3 separate regions of the Homo sapiens genome follow, and all the other regions are linked to region 2. Evidence: promoter capture Hi-C in 16 types of primary human blood cells and fetal thymus (Javierre and others, 2016). All regions are on one chromosome and are shown on one strand. Each heading gives the region's core, a stretch centred on a gene start or on the middle of the fragment in contact. The rest is flanking DNA. Distances are from core to core; before and after follow the strand shown. Region 1 overlaps LRRFIP1 (LRR binding FLII interacting protein 1). Region 2 holds the start of HDLBP (high density lipoprotein binding protein). Region 3 overlaps LRRFIP1 (LRR binding FLII interacting protein 1).

What was found. The method cuts DNA at HindIII sites, captures the fragments that hold promoters and counts their contacts. A CHiCAGO score of 5 or more calls a contact.
Region 1: a fragment that was not itself captured here is called in contact with the fragment with the promoter of HDLBP in region 2 in 1 of 17 cell types (neutrophils); the score reaches 5.7 in neutrophils.
Region 3: a fragment that was not itself captured here is called in contact with the fragment with the promoter of HDLBP in region 2 in 1 of 17 cell types (neutrophils); the score reaches 6.4 in neutrophils.

The regions. Positions count from the first base shown.
Region 1 is chr2:237,697,975-237,702,756 of GRCh38, reverse strand. The region is part of intron 1 of LRRFIP1 (LRR binding FLII interacting protein 1); the gene reads right to left. Among named protein-coding and RNA genes, the nearest start is that of LRRFIP1, 73 kb to the right of the region's middle. RefSeq lists enhancers at 2,248-2,297, 2,308-2,357 and a silencer at 4,351-4,400. The HindIII fragment of the contact is 2,936 bases long and covers 1,682-4,617 here.
Region 2 is chr2:241,313,412-241,317,673 of GRCh38, reverse strand. It overlaps HDLBP (high density lipoprotein binding protein), which reads left to right and starts at 2,002. Exons shown (of 28, transcript NM_005336.6): 1 at 2,002-2,104. It overlaps SEPTIN2 (septin 2), which reads right to left and starts at 1,749. Exons shown (of 13, transcript NM_004404.5): 1 at 1,692-1,749. RefSeq lists enhancers at 552-1,276, 1,227-1,286, 1,277-2,001, 1,927-2,026, 2,047-2,096 and 1 more and silencers at 1,477-1,826, 2,367-2,746. The HindIII fragment of the contact is 7,846 bases long and covers 1-3,346 here.
Region 3 is chr2:237,680,719-237,685,204 of GRCh38, reverse strand. The region is part of intron 1 of LRRFIP1 (LRR binding FLII interacting protein 1); the gene reads right to left. Among named protein-coding and RNA genes, the nearest start is that of LRRFIP1, 55 kb to the right of the region's middle. The HindIII fragment of the contact is 2,597 bases long and covers 623-3,219 here.

The DNA of each region.
Region 1 (4,782 bases), core at 1,900-4,399, 3.6 Mb after region 2:
TCGTTCAAGATAAGGGCCCCTGCCGTGCAGCAGGACATGCATAGCTCGGTCTGGCTGCTGTTTCATAACAAAGAGCAAAAATTTAAAAAGAAAGAAAAGAAGGAAGGAAATGGAAGAGCCCCAAAACCAAAACTCATGCTTTCTGCTGCTGGAAGGTGGCCCGCTGCTGGGTTTTGCAGCGCTGCCCCCACCGTGTCCTCTCTCAGTTCCTGCTGCTGCCCGCGGGGTTAGGATGGAGCAGAGGGAGGAGCTCCTCTGACAAGATCCAGGCTCCCTGGCTTCTCAGGAATGCCCACAATGGTTGGTCCAGAACCATTCCTGTTCAGAACACACAGCCTGGCCCTTTCCCTGGGATCCCACCCATCCTGGCCAGGGACCCCACAGACAGAGTTTTACAGGAACTAGGTCTTACAGCAAGATACTCTTTGAGGGTGGGGATGGCTGGGAAAAAAAGATTCCATTTACTATCAAAGTTGCCTCCTTGTCCTAATCCTAGAAAGCCGAACCACGACTCGAGTTCTATTGTTGCGTCTTATTTTACCATATGTGAATATGACAGCCCTCTGATAGGGAGGTGGTGTGTACGGTGATAAGAGATCTAAAAATACACGAGGAAGCACAAGTATGACCCCCAGGGCCTCCGAAACAAATGGCTAAAAAGACAGCCAGGCTCTCCCAGCCACATTAATGCCAGCCCCACAGCCTGCTGTGGAGCCCAAGTCTATGGGGGCACCTCCCTGGGAGCCCCATCTGCCAGGCACCCAGCCCACAGGCCAGCTGGGGAGATAGGCACCAAAGTGACCCTTCTCCCCCTGCAGGGTCTTTTCTGGGCTGCATGGACCCATGCGTGACATCTCGGGAGCCAGGCTGGAGAGGCCTGCAGAAGACTGCGTGAAGAAGTCACCATCCCCATCCCGAGCCACAGATAAAAGCACATGTTAGGAGGTGCTTTGCAAAGGGACCCCACGGCATGCAGAGGGCCCTGAGGGGCTCTAGTTCTAGACAGAACCACACAGCAGAAACGGCTTCTACCGGGGCAGGGCACACAGGGCAGTGAGGTAAACAGTCTAACCCATGCCTGTTCTTCCAGGGCTCCCCATGGGCCTCCCGCTCAGAGCCCCAGAGATTCCCAGCTATAAGAAGACAGTCACCCAAAGATAATGGCCGTCCCTTCTTCCGGGTCAGGGAACTCAGGGACAGCCCGGCTCAGGCTGGGGGCTCAGGCCAAGGAGAACCAGAGAGAGAAGAAGTTATTGACCAGGACACAAGGAGAAACCCCAGCGGAGCGCAGAGTGGAGAGCCCTCCCGCACGCCCTCCTGGCCTAGCCCACATGTGCTTCCATCCTCGCATGGCCTCAGCCTGCGCTGGAGGTGTTGTAGGCAGTGGGAGTACTGCCTAAGGGTGGGGACAGCCCAACACCCTGAACCCCAATTCCAGTGACGTCTGGGGCTCTAGCAGCTCTAATGGCATTTGTATCCTTCTTGTGGCTCCTACCAGAAGATCATCATGTGGTCTCCTCAAAGAACAGAAACACAACCAACACTGGTGGGGCAGGGGCCCTGACTGCTGGCAAAGGGACAGCAGGTGCTGCGGGAGGCTCGCTGGGCAGCTTGCTTCAAAAGCCCCACACTCCTTCAGGGGATCCTGGCACTGCTCATACATTTCCTGAGCATTGAAGCTTTTCTGGGATTCCAGCCTAGTGTAGAATTACAGATCCCAGGGCCTCTCACCCTACAGTCACAGGAAATGTTCTTACTCTGCTTTTAAACTCTGTGGTGATACCCTAGGGGTCCAGAATTCTACACAGAAGCTGGAAGGGGTTTATGAGCCACAACTTTAGGGCAGGCAGTTCCTGAGAAATACTCTGACGTCACTCCTTCCACCCAGGCTGAGAAGGCCCTGCAGCCTGGAAAGCACCGCATGTGAACCAGAGGCGGCTCCCACCTCCCCCCGCAGAGCCCAGGGGAGACCCAGGGCATACAGCTCATGTGCAGATTCGTGGCTGCCATGCCCGCCGTTTGCCAGGAGCCTGTTAGCGCATATTAGGGACACCCAGTGGGCCAATGGACAGAGGACTGGACCATGAACAGCAGCTCTCCTCAGATGTCAGATGGAAATGACGCCCCACGGGGCTGTTCAGGGAGAGAAGCCGTTTGCCAGCTGTAAAGCACTCTGCAAACAGGAGGAAGTTCTCCTATTAATTACACACATTCATTTTCGCCTCCAGGTTTTAGCGTCAAGCAGAGAAGTGAAAAAGCAGCAGCATTATTTTTCTAGGCCCCATGATACATCACCAGTCTAGTTTATAACCTTTTTGGAAAAGTGTTAAGGATGTAATTCAAGTTCACTCACGTGAATGTGACAGGAATATGATGCAGCCGAAGCCTGAAGTGGCCACAAAGGCCAGTTTGTTCACAGACAAGCAGGGGCCTCGGTCCTTGTGCGATTCTTCCCCTGAGCTAAGAAGGAATCAAGCTCCTGGAGGGGCCGTGGTGTACCCAGGCTGTGACACGGGATCCCTTTCCTGAGCCACTTTGCTATAGGAAGTAGCCACAGCCACCAACTTTTGTTTTCTCTGCAAACCCCCCAACCCTCAGATGCAGTGGCCTCTAAAGTTTGCTATTCACAGCAACCAAGTGGGCCGGGTGATGTTCTCCTGCACAGACGTGGACAAGAACGGACGGCACAAGGCTAGCACCTCCGCAACGCAAGGGAGGCTCACCTCGGTTCCGTGTACCCACCACCCCATGTCCCCCAGAGGCGATGTGCACTGTATCTCAGTTCCAAAAGAAATGCTCATGTGGGCAATCTCACGAAGTCCCCCAGGAACCACAAAGAGCCTTCCCTACGGCCATGACTGTGAGAACGATCGTTACCAGGCACAGGGCACTCTGGGGTGGCAGCTGGCAGTGGCGGAAGTGTTGACTTAGAGGGCATTTTGGAAATGTTGGGGGGACTGGGATGTCAAAAAGATTGGGAAGAAGCTAAGGGTATTGGGGCGGGGGGGCAGGGCCAGGTCGGCCAACCATCCCGCATTCAGACACGCCTGCGATGGGAAGAACTTTTCCCTTGACTGCTCAGGAAGATAGAAAAACCACTGTTTTGGCCGGGTGCGGTGGCTCACGCCTGTAATCCCAGCACTTTGGGAGGCCGAGGCAGGCGGATCATCTGAGGTCAGGAGTTCAAGACCAGTCTGACCAACATAGTGAAATCCCATCTCTACTAAAAATACAAAATTAGCCGGGCATGGTGGCGCATGCCTATAATCCCAGCTACTCAGGAGGCTGAGGCAGGAGAATCACTTGAACCCGGGAGGCGGAGGTTGTAGTGAGCCGAGATCTCACCATTGCACTCCAGCCTGGGCGACAGAGCGAAATTCCATCTCAAAAAAAAAGAAAAAAAAAAAAAAGAAAAGAAAAACCACTATTTTTAATTTTTGGATTTACAAACTGATTGCAACTTACATATAAACTCAAAATATGTTTTACACAGTTCAAATATACATGAACTATTCCAGGAATGCAATCGACATGGAAATTGAAGGAAGATGATGATACTTGGCTTTGTTCAGAACTTTCCTGAGAGTTAGTCAACTTTGTAGAATGTCACGTCATAGACAGCAACATGAGGGGTGGTGTGTGGGTCTCAGTGCAACACACCTGTGTCAGCCTCCCTGTGACGCCAGGCACAGGTGTGTGCAGGTCTCATCACTGCATTCAACTGCTGGTGTACTTGGTCTTGAGTATTTCTATATCAAAATTCTTATTATGTTACTATAAACTACCTGTATTTTATTTTTTAAGGAAATGTTATATTGACTCGAAATTATGTGCGCTGGTTGACTTTCTCACCTATGCATTTCATTTCAGGCTAGTAAGGAAGTTAAGGAACTTGTAAAAAGACAGGGTTGAGAACCACAGCTTCAGAACTCCAGTGTGGATCTCTCGTCTCTCCATCACACTGTATGAACCAGCCCCGGCACAATTCAGAGCACAGGTCTGGGTGCCTGGTGCTCAGGCCATCATGAAGATTTGGATGGCATAAAGTTAGAGATCAAAGCCTAACTGATTACTTAAAACACTATGTTTCCATCAAAATTAACTCAGACAAATTATGGAGTAGACTGAAATTACCATGAAAGTTTACGGTAAGACGGCCACCTTCAAAGAAGGCTTTAGCTTACAAGGCTGCTCCTGGCCGGGCCCACAGGCCCCAGGAGCCAGCACACTGTCCTCTGCACTCGGGGGACCTGGCAGACAAGTCCAAGAAATGCTGGGTGCCGACTGCTTCTCTCAGCTATGGCTGCACTGTTCTCAGTAAAGGTCTGAGTTTATGCAGGTGCAGACTGTCAAGAAAGGAGTCTGAAGACCCAGCCACAGCCTCCAGCTTGGGCTCTGTCACCTACAGTTATGTGAGCCTGGATAAGTTACTCGGTTTTTGAACCCCAGCCCTCATTAAAGAAGTAGGAGGGGACGTAATCTTTAAGAGCTTCCTTCCCCTCTGAAATTCTTTGGGTTCATGCCAGAGGTGAATTATTTGTACACTGAGATTGTCCACAGACTGTGTCTGTTTTGCTACTGGAAATCTCCAGGCTTTGCTTTTCAGAATAATAAGCTTCTTTAAAGTCCTTCGCATCCTAAAATAGCAAACGTATTAATCGGGAACAAAATGATTGATGTTACTTTATTGATGACTCACACATTGACCTATTCAAACCTCACAACACAATCTTGGGCTTAGCAGCTACTCCCACTGGCGCTAAGAAATAAATACGCTATACA
Region 2 (4,262 bases), core at 753-3,252:
TCCTAACAGGGACTGGGGCAGGGATAAGTGGCATGTATGACTACTAACAGAACAGACAATACAAATGGCCTTACCTCACCTCTGCTGCCAAATGAGTTTTGGTGTCCCCATTCCTCCAGACAAAAAAAAAAAAAAAAATACCCACAACTTCTTCTTTTACAGCAGTTTCTGTATGCTGGTATTGGGGATAAAAAGGGGCCCTGAATTACATTTATGAATGATAGAGGGAAACCCTGGCCCCTTTCCCTAGGTCACCTTGCTAGTTTAAGAGCCAGTCAGAATGTAAATCTGATCTAATTAAAACGCTCTTGTTCTTTATTCCTGGCTGTGGCACTGGTGAGAGAAATCAAGGTGGAAGTTGAGGAAAAAAAATCAGGACAACCTTTATAGCTAATGAGATCAATGCCAAGATTATACATAACAGTACACATCATGAGTTAGGATGCTGGGTGGTGCAAAGAACCCATTAATGGGAGCTATCAAAAATCACTGAAAACAATGAGGCTCAAATCAGAAGTATCAAGAATCAGCTTTCATGACCCCTACACCATGATGTTTTTCTTTATGACGGCAGAACTATTTTGAAACATTAAATATATCGGCAGGCACTGTGATTCAAAAAGTATTTGAGAACCTACTAGGTGCTAGACACCAACCGAGGCAATGAGTATGGGTGACAACATGTGCCCTGCCCTCACAGCACCAATAGTCCACTGGACAAATACCATCTGGAACATCAGGTAAACACCTAAGCCTGTCTGGAGGAAATCTAATTTGGGCGGAATCCCACAAGCACAGACTAGGTAAGGAGAAGGCAGTTAAGGTGGGAAGTAGCCAGATTTAAGAGTTTGGGCAATGGCCAAAGGTGCAGAAGTTTGAACTACAAGAAGTTCAGTGTAGTTGGTTCGTGTGTTTCCGTGGAGAGAGGACAAGGTCTGGTGGCACTGACAAGAATTAGACCGAAAAGGTAAAAAAGCAAGCCAGGTTTGTCTGGGCCAGTAGGCCAGGTCACAGTTGGGACTCCACTGAGACCACGGAAGCCACAGGTTTGCTCCTCATCCCCGGGCCAACTCGGCGGCCTCCAACCCTATACCCTACCCCCTGCTGCCTGTCCGTGCCTCGCTGGTGCAGACCTTCGTCGCCTCTCCTCGCCGAAGGTACCCGCAGACAGGGCCTAGTCGCTCTCCCCTCGCTTATCCACGGCATCCAGCCGATGGGCTTGGAGGTTTGGGGGCTGGCCAGTCCTCCACGCCTCAGGGAGGAAATGGCACCGTTAGAAAGACAAGATGGCCACACAAGCTCTAAGTGTTTGTCGGGCCTAAACCTGTATCCTCCCTCCAAGCACCAAACCTCCCGACCTCGACCGCACTCGACGCCCCGAGGCCCAGCACCGACGACAGTGCAGAGGAATTCCCGCAGGGTCAACAAGGGGTCACCGGAATCCCCACTCCCGCGCCCGGGCCTGCCCGTGTCGGAGCCACTGTCGCCGGCACTAGGACCGCCCGGGACGGGGGAGCCCACGATAAGTGCCGAAGAGCCTGGGCTCGGCCGCCCCTCCCCCACACCGCCCCGCCGGCACCCCAGAGCCAGCCGACCACCGCCCGAGAGTATGGGACGAGCGGCGCGTCCCCCGCAGCTCCTCGGGAGGGCCGGCCCACAACTTGTGCGGGGTACACCGGCGAGACACTCACCCGCCAAACAGCCCGAGAACAGGCGCCGACCGACCGCGCCGCGGACCCGCCCAGCGCTCGCGGTCCGCTCACAGCCCGCCCCAGCCCGCCCCGCCCCGCCCAGCGCGCAGGCGGATTGCGTCACCGCGTCACCCCGCCCCTTTGCCAACTGCTTCCTGGCTCAGTGCGACCTGGCCTTCTTCCCCTCCCCCATGCGGCCGGCTTCCGAGTGCGCAAGCCCAGAGTCGTCCGCGTTGTCCGCCTCTGCGCAAGCGCCGTGCTCCTCCCACGGCAGTTGGCCATATAGAGGCTGGGGGTGGGGGGGGAGGTCAAGCGTAGCCTCTTCTCCTTTACCAAGATGGCGGCTTGTCCCTGTTTCGCCACAGTTCCTACCTTATGAGCTCGGTTTTCTTATGCTTATAAGAGTGGAACAGGTAATGAGAATCTTCGCCTTGCGGTGGGTAACTGGAGTGGGGGGAAGGCCGTTTGTTAGAAGGAGACAAGTGCCCACTGAGGAGGAGAGAGGCGGTCGCGGGAGGGCAGGTGGTGGCGGGAGTGCGGAGCGATCACGGGGAGGGGGAGCCTTCGCCTCTCCTCCTGTCCTCCAAGAAGATGGCGGCAGCACCGAGCTGGGGCGCCGAGTACGACTGGGCGGGGGACGGCGAGCGGCCGCGCGAAACTCGTCTAGCCCACCACCGCCGCCGTCTCGATGATCGGGGGGCCTCTCTGGGATTGGCTGCGCGCACGTCACGTGGGGCCGACGGGCCCTGCGCAGACCATCGAGTCGGGCGTCCCTCCCCGGGGACGTGGCCTTCCTGTGCCCGGGCTGGGGCCCGCCGCCCCGCGGGGGAGGGCGGAGCTGGCGCGGCCCCTAGCTTTCTCCTTCTGGTGTGGGGCCCGAGGTGAGACCTGGGGAGTGCTCCGCGAGCCCACGAGCAGCGACGTGGCTCGGGGACGGGAGGGTGCCGTGCCTGGCTGCGGCCTGAGCGGGATGGGCGCGGGCGGCTCCGGCCCGCGGGTTGTGCCCCGGCCCGGGGTGTCCTTTCCTCCCTCCCGCGTGGCCTGGAGGCACTGCAACTGTTCGAGACTCACGTCAAGGCTTGGCGCAAATACCCCTCGTTCAGGAAGCCTTCCTAGGTTTCCCCCGCTTAGAGGAAACACTTCCTGAGTTCCTAATGGCTGACCCGCATGGTGTTGGGAACCTGAGCCTTTCTGACACCGTGGCATGTTGCTAGGGTATTTTTGTGCGTAGCTCCTTTGAAAAGTGGTTAGGTGCTCAAGGCTAGCTGCTACATATCCTCTCCATTCGACTTAAAAAATGAGAGGGTCAGACTTGACATGGTGTTTGGACGCCATGTAAAATCGAAGGAAGTCGACTTGGGCTTTGCTTATTAAACAGTGCCTATTATGGTGAAATTAAACGGCTGAAGGAATGTGGATGAGTCGTAATCTTAAGGAACATGACGATTTGCCCCTCAGTTTTGCGTTTTATGTCCTCAGATTCATAGCTACCTATACCCTAAGCCCTCAATCAATGACTTCACATTTATTTGGTGTCTGCTTAAGGATAGTCACTTTCTTAGCAGCTAACTTCCTTAAAACCCTATTAAGATAGGTTAAGTCACAATTAGGGTTTTGTCTAAGGCTCCTGGTAGCGGCACATTGCATAATAAGCTTAATGTTCATTTAGGGAAGCAAATCTGGGATGCTGAAACACTGGATGAAACGTAGTGCTTAGGTTTATATTTTGATTTTTTGACATGTAAAAGTATCCCTAGGCTAAATTCATTAAGTACACATGATATTAGGATGCTTGGCAACAGTATTTAAAAATAGTTGAAAAGGTGTTTGGGTAAGAATTATTTCCATCATTTGGATTACCGAATCTCTGAGTCTGAAACATCAACCTATCAAGTTTTAGACTTGGGGAAAATGGAGCTGGAGCCTACTGCCTCAAGTCTCAGGGACAGCGTTTGAAACCCCATTAAATAATTCATCATGAGGATTAAACTTTCCTGTTACTGCTATTAGTTTTGCTTGGTGCCAAGCACTGTTGAAGGGACTTAGCTCATCTTATCAGGAGTCAAATTAACGTCATTCGGGTAAAAGTGCATTGAGTGTAAGGAGAGCACCTCAAAGATATAGTTGACCTATATCACGTCCCTCAGCGCCACTAGGCTTACTTGAATCCCTGTTACAGTGTCCTCTCCAGTGGGCAAAGCTAACTTCTCAGTGGCCTGGTGGGAGAATTTCTTCTTGAGTAAATACGTATTTTTCCAGGTTTTGTTGTTTTGGCCTTCCAGTTGTCTGACTTCAGCCTCATGACCTCACTTCTTCATTTCAATTCAAAAAAATATTTGCTGGAAATTGCTGTGTAGGGTTAAGGGTTCTGCAGATACAAAGGTTGAGAGGATATAGTCTTTTCGACCAGGTGCAGTGGCTCACGCTTGTAATCCCAGCACTTTGGGAGGTCGAGGCGGGTGGACACTTGAGGTCAGGAGTTCGAGACCAGCCTGACCAACATGGTGAAACCCTGTCTCTACTAAAAATACAAAAATTAGCCTGGCATGGTGGCGCGCGCCTGTAATCCCA
Region 3 (4,486 bases), core at 672-3,171, 3.6 Mb after region 2:
TACACAGTAGCCAAGGAAATGGCCACAAACACCTCCAGTAAAGCATCTCTAAGAAAACCACTTCTGATTTTTGGGGTTTTTTTGTGTGGGGGGGGGAGGGTAGGGAGACAAGGTCTCACACTGTTGAGTGTCAGGTTGGAGTGCAATGGCACAATCTTGGCTCACTACATACAACCTTGGCTCACTGCAACCTTGTCTCAAGCTATCCTCCCAACTCAGCCTCCCAAGTAGCTAGGCCTGCAGGTGTGCACCACCACGCCTGGCTAATTTTTTTTTTTTTTTCAGAGACAGGGTTTCAGCATGTTGCCCAGGGTGATCTTGAACTCCTGGGCTCAAGCAATCCACTAACCTTGGCCTCCCAAAGTGTTGGAATTACAGGTCTGAGCCACCGCACCAGGCCCAATTTTGTTTTTCATGAAGACAATGCACTGCAAATATCTACCAATTACCTTCTAAAAACACGACAGCTAAAATCCATTATGTATTTCTCAGTCTTACAGGCACAAACTCTGAAAAGTCCTCCTAAGGCAGCTCTCCTGTGAAGAAAAAAAAAATCTATACATGCTCTCAGAATAGTTCATTTAAAATGTTCAGAATAGATGCTGACATGGGGAAATAAGCTTCATCCTCAACAACTGCATTCACCAGCTAACAGTATACCCCACTGAGAAGAAATAAATCAAATGCTTCAATATATACTTAGGAATAGAAAATGGCAATTTGTTTTTTTTGAGATAGTCTTGCTCTGTAGCCTAGGCTGGTGTGCAGTGGTGTGATCTCGGCTCACTGCAGCCTCCGCCTCCTGGGTTCAAGTGATTCTCCTGCTTCAGCCTCCCAAGTAGCTGGGACTACAGGTGTGTGCCACCACACCCAACTACTTTTTTTTTGTATTTTTAATAGAGATGGGGTTTCACCATGTTGGCCAGGCTGGTCTTGAATTCCTGGCCTCGAGAGATCTACCCGCCTCGGCCTCCCAAAGTGCTGGGATTACAGGTGTGAGCCACTATACTTGGCCAAAAAAAAAAAAAAAATGGCAATTTTAGTACAAAATAAAAGCAATGTATTTTTTCCAGAGATTCCCTCATTTATGTGGCTTTGCCTCAGTAATCCTGCCTATGAGTTTAACATTCTAGAAAAGAGAATATTCCTGACAGTCAGAGCCATGAAATAAATCTTTACGCTACTAGCTGAAAACTTCAGAATCCACCACGCTACAAATGTCATTGATAAATGTCATTCACAAAAAAAAGAAGTGTGGGGAGAATAGGACTCCATAATCTGAATTTAAACAGTACCCATAGCATACAGAGAAGTTTAAGGTACTCAAGATGTATTCGAAGGCTTAAAAGTAAAGCACTGCCACTAAGCAACTTGGCTTCCAGGCTCCCTGACTGAAGGGCAGACATGAACATCAGGAACGGTGAGCATCCTTCCAGCTGAAGGTACAGAAATCCTAAAACAGCATCCCCAAAATGATCTTTCCAAGAAAATGAATTTCCATAAAGGAAAATAAAGGCTAAAACACACTTCGGCATAACACTAAAAACATAGACCCACACTCTAATAGAAGGGTTTGCCCTTTTGCACTTTGGCCCTTGAGAGATAGCTCAAAGCAAAGTCATCAACTATTCGAGTACAAAAAATGTTCTCCATGTGTACAAATTGGATATCTTTAGAGAAGACTTGGACATAGAACATACAAGCCTCACCTTTGAAGAATGAAGATCTTAGATGAACTTCAGGGGGAGTGTGAGGAACGCCAGAGAGCAGCCATTTGGAGAGACATGCTTGGCACGAGAGTGGAAATTCTGGAATAACTGGAGATCAAATAGCCACTCCTGACCACGTCACCTTTATACCCTGTACCTCACTGGGCAGCTGCCTTGGCATGATGAGAGGGCGTGGTCCCCTAAACGCACTGGAGGCTTTCCAAATGCTTCTCTGACCTGACCGTCGGCTTGATTTTAGTTGCTGAGATTCCACTGAAGCCCTCGCCCCTTGTCTCCACCCCGTTGGTGGCATCTGTATCAAATGTGCTGTCGGGCTTTTTGGGAAACCCTAGGATTGATAAAGAGCAGGGTCCCCTGACGTTTGGGGTTGCACAGTTCCTTGTCGTGGGCGGCTGTCCTGTGCATTGCAGGATGGCTAGCCGCGTTCCTGGCTCCACCCACCAGATGCTGGCAGCGCTCTCCACCCCAGCTGTTACAACCAAAAATATCTCAGACATTGCCAAGTGGCCCTGGATCTAGAGGGGCCTGTACCTGCATCCGAGGTGCCCACACTGTGGAAGCACATTCATGTCTCAGCTTATACAGCTGGATGGGGCCCCAACAGTTCCACAGCAAAGCATGCACAGAAAGAATGGTCAAGATGGGAATATGTGCACACGGCATCTAACATCTGTTGCCTTCTTCTTTCATCCAGTGAGAACTTGAAGGCAGGGCTGCTTGTCAGGGACGGCAAGAAAGTCAGCGCCAGGAGCATTGAAAGACAGGAGGTGCAGGTCACTGGGTGGGAAGTGGGGAGTTGAGATTTCAGATGTGGTGTGGTCACACCAAGGGATGTAATCCTGGAAGTTGGCTGGAAGAAAGAACAGCTGAAGTGAGAAGATCAAAGAACTGGGTTTTGCTTCTCGGCACCTCTGGGAAGGCCCAATCCAAGAGTAAGCCGATGGGAGAGAAAACAACCCTGCACCCCTACACAGAGAATGCAAGTGACCTGTGCAGAAGGCCTCAAAGCTCCAAAGCAGAGGTTTAGCAGATAATCAGGCTCGAGCTCCTGTTCTGCCATTCACTAGCCTGTAATTTCAAGGAAATCCCCTGACCTCTTCCAGCTTCCTACGTAAAGCAGGGAGAGAGACAGCCAGCAGACAGGACTGCCCGGAGGACTGCAAGTAACAGGGGACCTGAGCCTGGCATGAACAAGTACTTTGTTCCGTTGCACTGGCAAAAGATTCCGTCTGGCAGCTCATTCCATCTGCTATTTGACCATACACAGATTATTTTTTTCCCGCAAAACAAGGGGCTCTAGAATTACAATTTACATCCAGGTTAGAGAAGTTGCGGGAAGGTCTAGCATCACTCAGTTAGCTTGGACTAGGTTTAAAACTTCATCAGTGCTTTTGGCACACTCAGGGAGCTTCTGCCGTCTTTCAGGCAGCTGTCCGTCTTCGAGCCCAGCACTGTGTTGTTGCTTTACTGCTATTCCCAAAGCCAAGCTTGTGGAGTTCTTAGTCCTCAGATGAACACAATTAAGAATAGGACTTTGGGAGGCCGAGGCGGGCGGATCACGAGGTCAGGAGATCGAGACCATCCCAGCTAAAACGGTGAAACCCCGTCTCTACTAAAAATACAAAAAATTAGCCGGGCGTAGTGGCGGGCGCCTGTAGTCCCAGCTACTTGGGAGGCTGAGGCAGGAGAATGGCGTGAACCCGGGAGGCGGAGCTTGCAGTGAGCCGAGATCCCGCCACTGCACTCCAGCCTGGGCGACAGAGCGAGACTCCGTCTCAAAAAAAAAAAAAAAAAAAGAATAGGACTGCGGCCGGGCACGGTGGCTCACACCTGTAATCCCAGTACTTTGGGAGGCTGAGGCAGGCAGATCACCTGCGGTCACTAGTTCAAGATCAGCCTGGCCAATGTGGTGAAACCCCGTCTCTACTAAAAATGCAAAAATTAGACAGGCATGGTAGCATGGGCCTGTAATGCCAGCTACTCAGGAGGCAGAGGTGGGAGAATCGCTTGAACCCAGGAGGCGGAGGTTGCAGTGAGCCAAGATCACACCACTGTACTCCAGCCTGGGTCACAGAACGAGACTCCATCTCAAAAAAGAAAAAAAAGAATAGGACTGTGTAAAAGACATAGGCATGCAAAGACCAGAAGGACATGCAGAATAAACACAGGGCTGCTCTGCCGAAGTGGTAGAACTGTGGGAGTTGTAAACATTGCTTTTTGAACACCCTTGGATATTGTCAGAATGCTCTTTTTACAGTACGCAGGTTAAGGAACTTGGACTTTATTCAGGAAGCAGTAAAGGACCCACTGAAAGTATTTGAACAGGGAGGTGAGATTGTGTTTGAATAAAGAAGCTGTGGGCTACAAAAAAGTTGAAAACTACCCCTGTTATGTTTTTTCAAAAATTTCTTGGCCAGCCTCTCCATTTATTCTTCCAGATTAACTCAGGAGTCTATTTGTTTTTTTTCTTTTTGTCATTGTTGTTGTTGTTTTTGACACAGGGTCTCACTGTGCTACCCAGCCTGGAGTGCAGTGGCGTGATCATGGCTCACTACAGCCTCCACCTCTTGGGCTCAAGTGATCCTCCCATCTCAGCCTCTGGAGTAGCTGGGACCACAGGCCTGTGCCACCTTGCCTGGCTAATTTTTGTATTTTTATAGAGATGGGGTTTCACCATGTTGCCCAGGTTGGTCTCCAACTCCTGGGCTCAAGTGATGGGCCCACCTCAATCTCCCAAAGCGCTGGGATTACAGGCA